Linked DNA regions of Homo sapiens: region 2 is linked to region 1. The links are contacts of gene promoters, found by promoter capture Hi-C in blood cells and fetal thymus (Javierre and others, 2016). All regions are on one chromosome and are shown on one strand. The core of a region is centred on a gene start or on the middle of the fragment in contact, and the rest is flanking DNA. Distances in the headings are between cores, read along the strand shown. Region 1 holds the start of ZNF394 (zinc finger protein 394). Region 2 holds the start of LOC105375423 (a long non-coding RNA gene).

What was found. The method cuts DNA at HindIII sites, captures the fragments that hold promoters and counts their contacts. A CHiCAGO score of 5 or more calls a contact.
Region 2: a fragment that was not itself captured here is called in contact with the fragment with the promoter of ZNF394 in region 1 in 1 of 17 cell types (erythroblasts); the score reaches 6.9 in erythroblasts.

The regions. Positions count from the first base shown.
Region 1 is chr7:99,498,478-99,502,110 of GRCh38, reverse strand. ZNF394 (zinc finger protein 394) reads left to right here and starts at 1,830. Exons shown (of 3, transcript NM_032164.4): 1 at 1,830-2,473; 2 at 3,269-3,395. The coding sequence starts at 2,018. RefSeq lists enhancers at 2,220-2,499, 2,722-3,390. The HindIII fragment of the contact is 23,896 bases long and covers 1-3,633 here.
Region 2 is chr7:99,995,386-99,999,018 of GRCh38, reverse strand. LOC105375423 (a long non-coding RNA gene) reads right to left here and starts at 1,944. Exons shown (of 3, transcript NR_159960.1): 1 at 1,909-1,944. RefSeq lists enhancers at 1,367-1,486, 1,497-1,586. The HindIII fragment of the contact is 2,314 bases long and covers 755-3,068 here.

The DNA of each region.
Region 1 (3,633 bases), core at 581-3,080:
AGGAGGCAGAGGTTGCAGTGAGCCGAGGTCAGGAAATCAAGACCATCCTGGCTAACATGGTGAAACCCCGTCTCTACTAAAAATACAAAAAATTAGCTGGGTGTGGTGGCACGCGCCTGTAATCCCAGCTACTTGGGAGGCTGAGATAGGAGAATCGCTTGAACCCGAGCGATACTCCCTCTCAAAAAAAAATTTTTTTATTTTTATATGGAGACACATCCTCTCTATGTTGCTCAGGCTGGCCTGGAACTCCTGGTCTCAAGCGATCGTCTCATTTTATGCAAGTTGCAAATCACCAGCAGCTTGACATCAACCAAGACACTTTGTTTTAGAGACAGAGTCTTGCTCTGTCACCCAGGCTGGAGTGCACTGGTGCGATCATATCTCACTGCAGTCTTTACCTCCTGGGCTCAAAGGATCCTCCCACCTCAGCCTCCCAAGTAAGTGGTGTATCCTGAGTTGGTTCCTTCCAGTGGGTTCATCCTCTCGCTGACTTCAAGAATGCAGCCTCCGACCTTCACTGTGTTACAGCTCTTAAAGATGGCACGGACCCAAAGAGTGAGTAGCAGCAAGATTTATTGTGAAGAGCGAAAGAACAAACCTTCCACAGCATGGCAGAGCACTCCAGCCGGTTGCCTCCGCTGACTGGGGTGGGAGCTTTTAGTCTCTTATTTGTCCCCTCCCATGTCCGTTTCTGTCGTATCAGAACGCCCTTTTTTCCATCCTCCCTGCGATTGGCTGCTTTTAGAATCCTGCTGATTGGTCCATTTTACAGAGCGCTGATTGGTGCATTTTACAAACCTCTTGCTAGCTACAGAGCGCTGATTGGTGCATTTTTACAAACCTCTTGTAAGACAGAAAAGTTGTCCAAGTCCCCACTGGACCCAGGAAGTCCAACTAGCTTCACCTCTCACTGGGACTACAGGTGTGCACCACCACACCCAGCTAATTTTTTATTTTTTGTAGACATTGGGGTCTCCAATTCTTGGCTTCAAGCGATCTTCCCCCCTCAGCCTCCCAAAATGCTGGGATTACAGGCATACGCCACTGAGCCAGGCCAGGACACATCTTTGAGCCTCAATTTCCTCATCTTTTTTGTTTGTTTGTTAGGATCAAAGTCGTTAACATCTGATGTACATGGAAGCACTTAGTTTTAAAAAAAAAACAAAACTTTTTCCAACTGGGCGCAGCGGCTCACGCCTGTAATCCAGCACTTTGGGAGGCCGGGGCAGGCGGATCACGAGGTCAGGAGTTCCAGACCAGCCTGACCAACATGGTGAAACCCCATCTCTACTAAAATACAGAAAGTAGCCGGGCATGGTGGCGCGCGCCTGTAGTCCAAGCTACTCAGGAGGCTAAGACAGCCTGGCGACAGAGCGAGAGTCCGCCTGAAAAAAGAAAAAAAAACAACTTTGTCCAACCTGGGCAATATAATGAAACCCCATCCCCACAGAAAAATTAATAAACCGGGCGTGGTCGCGCGCACCTGTAGTCCTAGATACTTGGGAGGCTGAAGCTGGAGAATTGCTTGAACCCGGGAGACAGAAGTTGCAGTGAGCCGAAATCGCGCCACTGCAGTCCAGCCTGGGCGACAGAGCCAGACCCTGTCTATTTAATCCTGAAGGTTCCCGCCCTTGCCGGAGCTCGGCCACCGGCTCGGACGCCCGTATTTCCTCGGGATGCGGGAAACCGTCAAGACCCTCTGCGTCGGGCGGGGCTAGGACGATAAACCAGCGAGATGCACCTCACCCCATCAGGCGCCTAGAGAGGCCCCGGAAATGCAGGGAAAGGTGCCGCAAGGCCTCGATGACGCGCTTCCGGCACGGGATGTTTTCGGTTGTTTGACCGAGAGAGTTGTAGGCGCAAAGCTGAGGAAAGGAGAGTGTGGAGAGGGGCCTGGTGTGGTGGGGCCCGGTGTTTGGGACCGGAGGGTGTTGACGGCTGATGAGTTCCTTGGGTTTGCTCTTTCTTCACCTGAAAAGAAGACTCCAGGAAGGGCAGCACATGCCGGAGAAAGATGAATTCCAGCTTGACCGCCCAGAGGCGCGGCAGTGACGCCGAGTTGGGACCCTGGGTGATGGCTGCGAGGTCCAAGGACGCGGCGCCGTCCCAACGCGACGGACTTTTGCCCGTGAAAGTGGAGGAAGACTCACCCGGAAGTTGGGAGCCCAACTATCCCGCGGCTTCGCCGGACCCCGAAACTTCTCGACTGCACTTTAGGCAGCTGCGTTACCAGGAGGTGGCTGGACCGGAAGAGGCGCTGAGCCGGCTCCGAGAACTCTGTCGTCGGTGGCTGAGACCCGAGCTGCTCTCCAAGGAGCAGATCCTGGAGCTGCTGGTGCTGGAGCAGTTCCTCACCATCCTGCCCGAGGAGCTTCAAGCCTGGGTGCGAGAGCACTGCCCAGAGAGCGGGGAGGAGGCGGTGGCCGTGGTGCGGGCTCTGCAGCGAGCGCTCGATGGAACCTCATCCCAGGTGAGAAGCGAAAGGCCTGTTCTGGAGGTGGGAGTGTGGAAAATAGGCGTTTAGGGGTGCTCTGCGTTTCGGAACTTACTTCCTTATTACATTTCGTGTGAACATTGGGGTGTGTATGGACTTCCTTTCTGTAGGCCACAGTGACAGATCCATCCAGGAAATGACTTGTTATAGACCTCAGCATAAAGCGAACACGGATTACTGGTTTTCTTTCTTTTTCTTTTCTTTTTTTTTTTTTTCTTGTTGTTCTTGCTGTTGTTTGAGATGGAGTTTCACTCTTGTTGCCCAGGCTGGAGTGCAATGGCGCGATCTCGGCTCGCTGCAACCTCTGACTCCCGGGTTCAAGCGATTCTCCTGCCTCAGTCTCCCGAGTAGCTGGGATTACAGGCGCCCGCCACCACGCCCGGCTAATTTTTGTATTTTTAGTAGAGACGGGGTTTCACTGTGTTGGCCAGGCTGGTCTCGAACTCCTGACCTCAGGTGATCCGCCCGCCTCGGCCTCCCAAAATGCTGGGATTACAGGCGTGAGCCACCGCGCCCGGCCTTGTTTACTTTTAATCTGTATCATATTTCCATTCCCATACATCACAGTGATATAAGTTAAAGAAATATTTTGCTCCTACCTACCTCCAAAATTAGTGTAAATAGTCCACAGAAAGGCTTTTCAGGATTACAAGAGAATGTCAGCCTCTATCTCTGATCTCTCCAAACTCCCTTGTCGGTACAAGACTCAAGAAGAGTGTTAGTGCTGTACAGGGACAGCAGGTACTGAATGGGGCTCTTGTGTTGTTCCAGGGGATGGTGACTTTCGAGGACACGGCTGTGTCTCTAACCTGGGAGGAGTGGGAGCGCCTGGACCCAGCACGGAGGGACTTCTGCAGAGAGAGTGCGCAGAAGGATTCCGGGAGCACAGTTCCGCCGAGTGAGTGCTGTTGCTCTGCTGGTTTATTGCGGTGTGTGGTTTGTGAAGGGCTGGTTCACTACCATCCCTGAGCCACTATGCCATTCCCAGACTTGGGCTGAGAGCCTTCAGGTGCCTTCTGTAACGCAAGCAGGAGCCTCTGTACTGCTAGGTGCTAGATTCAGCTTTTTACTTTGGTTCATTTTTAATGTTTTATACATACAGAAAACTATATAAAAAAAAGATAATGACCATCCCC
Region 2 (3,633 bases), core at 662-3,161, 500 kb before region 1:
TTCTACAAATTAACCTAATCCATTCCTCCCTATTACAAGATATTATTGCTATGCCCCTAGAAACAAGGGATTTGAAAGTCAGAAAGGTTAAATAAATTGGCCAATAAGTGGCAGTCAGTTCTCCTGCTATACTATTTCTAGAAAACAAACCTTTATTTTTTAAGGGGCTTGGCTATTTTGAGCAGAAGTGATCTGTGGTCACACAGATCTTAATCACCACTCCCCGACAGAGAATAAACATTTATCAGGATGGGGCCGGGGAAGGTGGCTCACGCCTGTAATCCCAGCAATTTGGGAGGCCGAAGTGGGAGGATCACTGAGGTCAGGAGTTCGAGACCAGCCTGGCCAACATAGCGAAACCCTGTCTCTATTAAAAATACAAAAATTAGCTGGGCTTGGTGGCAGGCGCCTGTAATTCTAGCTACTGGGGAGGCTGAGGCAGGAGAATCGCTTGAACCCGGGAGACGGAGGTTGCAGTGAGCCGAGATCGTGCCACTGCACTCCAGCCTGGGCAACAGAGCAAGACCCTGTCCCCCATCCCAAAAAACCAAAAACAACCATTTATCTGGATGGTGTCGAAATATTTACCACTTCCCCTGCACTTCTGACTTTTCGAACTTTGTGCTTTTGCCTGAGTTCCATCTGGAATGTTCTTCTTGGATGGTGGAGCATGTCGTCCACCTAACCAATTCCTACCTCTCCTTTGAATACACACCACTTAGTGGAAGTCTTCCCTGATCCCTGCCGACAAGCTTTTCAACTGCATCTCTCTCTTAAGCTAACCCAAGTCAGTACCGGCACCCTTGCTGGAATGTCCCATTTTGGGAAAGGCAGTATTTCTTGTATGAATCTTCATTTGCTCTCTACTGGGGGTAAGTGCACGTTAGAGAATAATGAAAACTTCAAGTCAAGGGATGCAGAGTGCGTTTACCAGTTCAACAACCTGGACTTTCTACCAGGCCATTTTCAAACTGAGCTGCCACGGACAGCAGCATGGACTTTGGTGCTAGCGGGGTCGGCCTGAAATCTGCAGCCTGCATGCTCCAAGGATGCCTGAAAAGAAGGGTCGAACCATGGGCCGCTCCCAGGACCCACCCTTTTAGTCTTCCCAGCTGGCTCAGGAAACAAAGGGGGGCCGGAGAGAGGCGGCGCCCAGGGCGCAACAGCCGGAGACTGGCGCTGCGTGCCTGGGGACAGAGGCCTCGTGCTAGGAGCCCCAAGCAACTACACACCTAGCCGCTGGCAAGAACAAACAGCAGTGACAGCAACAAACAGAACCGACAGCCGCAGACCGCCGTCGCTGCGGCCCACAAAGGCCGGAAGTGTGGCGGGTGCCGGCGGCCGAGGCGCCCTCTCTAGGACTTCGGAGGGCCCGCATCTCGGTGGTTCCCTATACTGGAAGACCCCCGATTCCCAGGGCGTGTACCCTACGACGGGGGCCTCAAAATGAGTCAAAAGGGAGAAAAGCCTGGGCGCAGTGACTCGTACCTGTAATCCCAGTCCTTTGGGAGGCCGAGGTGGGAGGATCGCTTGAGGCCAGGAGTTCGAGACTGGCCTGGGCAACAGAGAGAGACCTGGTCTCTACCAAGAATTAATAAAATGAGCCGGGTGTGGTGGGGCACACCTGTAGCCCCAGCTATTCGGGAGGCTTAAGTGGAAGGATCACTTGAGCCCTGGAGTCAGAGGCTGCAGTGAGCTTTGCTTGCACCATTGCACTCCAGCCTGGGAAACACAGTGAGACCCCATCTCAAAAAGGAAAAAAAAGGAAAGAAGAGAGGGAAGGAGAGAGGGAGGAAGGACAGAGGGAGGGAGGAGGGAGAGAGGGAAGGAAGGAAGAGAGGAAGGAAGAAAGGAAGGAAGGAAAGAAGGAAGGAAGGAAGGAAGAAGGAATCGAATTCAGCGGCTCACCTGTGGAAGAGGAAATCCATTTACAATGCATCCAGGCCTGAGTTTCAGCTGAGGGGTTGGAGCATGGCTGATTATCATCCTGGCTTCCCCCAGAGACCAAGGAAACTGAGGCCTGGAGCAAGTTCTTGCTTGCTCAGGGTCTCACAGTGATCCGGGTCAGAAGCCAGGACTTGTGGGACCACGATTTGTGCCCTTTGCACTGCCTGGACTGCCTCTCATCATAAATGAATACGGATAAAATTCGTTATGCTTTCAAAGTGGTAGGAAACACATGACAGATCAAAGCAGACAAAATAGTGTGCAAGACTTTTGAGAAGACGCCTCACACTCGTCGGGATGGCTACAGTTTAAATATCCCTTATCTGAAATGCTTGGGACCGGAAATGTTTCAGATTTCAGAATTTTTTTTTGACTTTGGAATATTTGCTTTACTGGTTGAGCAGCCCTAATCCCAAAATCCTAAGTCTGAAATGCTCTAATGAGCATTTTCTCTAAGTGCCATGATGGCCCTCAAGTTCTGGTTTTGTAACTTTTGGAGCTCAGATATTTGGATTAGGGATACTCTCCCTGTACTAAAAACAAACAAACAAACAAACACAAAAAACCACCACCACCACCAACAAAACAAAACAAAATAGCAGGTGTTTGGTGAGGATGTGGACAAATTGGAATCTTTGTGCATTGCTGGTGGGAACATAACATGGTGCAGCCCCCGTGAGAAATAGTACAGCGCTTCTTCAATAAAATTAAAAATAGAATTGGCTGGTGTGGTGGCTCCCGCCTGTAATCCCAGCACTTTGGGAGGTGAAGGCAGGCGGATCATTTGAGATCAGGAGTTCCAGACCAGCCTGACCAACATGGCAAAACCCTGTCTCTACTAAAAATACAAAAAAAAATCAGCTGGGCGTGGTGGCTCACGCCTGTAATCCCAGCTACTCGGGAGGCTGAGGCAGGACAGTTGCTTGAACCTGTGAGGGGGAGGTTGCAGTGAGCAAAGATGGTGCCACTGCACTCCAGCCTGGGCGACAGAGCTAGATTCTGTCAAAATGAAATGAAATGAAATGAAATAAAATAAAATAAAATAATCTCTGAAGGCTAAAGAGAGAAATTGGGTCAGCTGAAGAGTTTACAGATTTGCAGAGAATAGAGGCAAGGAAGCTTTGTGAACTACTTTTAGGTTGTGAAACTTGGTCTTGATTCAGCCCCCACATGGTCTTCATATACAAAGCTTCTTTGCAGAGGAAGCTCTTTGGAGAAAGATAACTGGTGAGATAGAAAGCACAGCCAAGAGATAACAAGGGAGACTTCTCTGGAGAATTTTGTGGATGAAGAGGAAAAACAAATCCATAAGGTCATGGGGATAATGAGTTATTTGAAATCAGAAAGAGTGATTAACATGGAGGCGGGGCGCAGTGGCTCATGCCTGTAATCCCAGCGCTTTGGGAGGCTGAGGCAGGCGGATTGCCTGAGGTCAGAAGTTCGAGACCAGTCTGGCCAACATGGTGAAACCCCATCTCTACTAAAAATACAAAAAAATTAGCCGGGCGTGGTGGTGTGCACCTGTAATCTCAGCTACTCGGGAGGCTGAGACAGGGGAATTGCTTGAACCAGGGAGGTGGAGGTTGCAGTGAGCCGAGATTTCGCCACTACACTCCAGCCTGGGCAACAGGGCGAGACTCCATCTCAAAAAAAAAAAAAAAAAAAAAAAAAAAGCAAACCAAACCA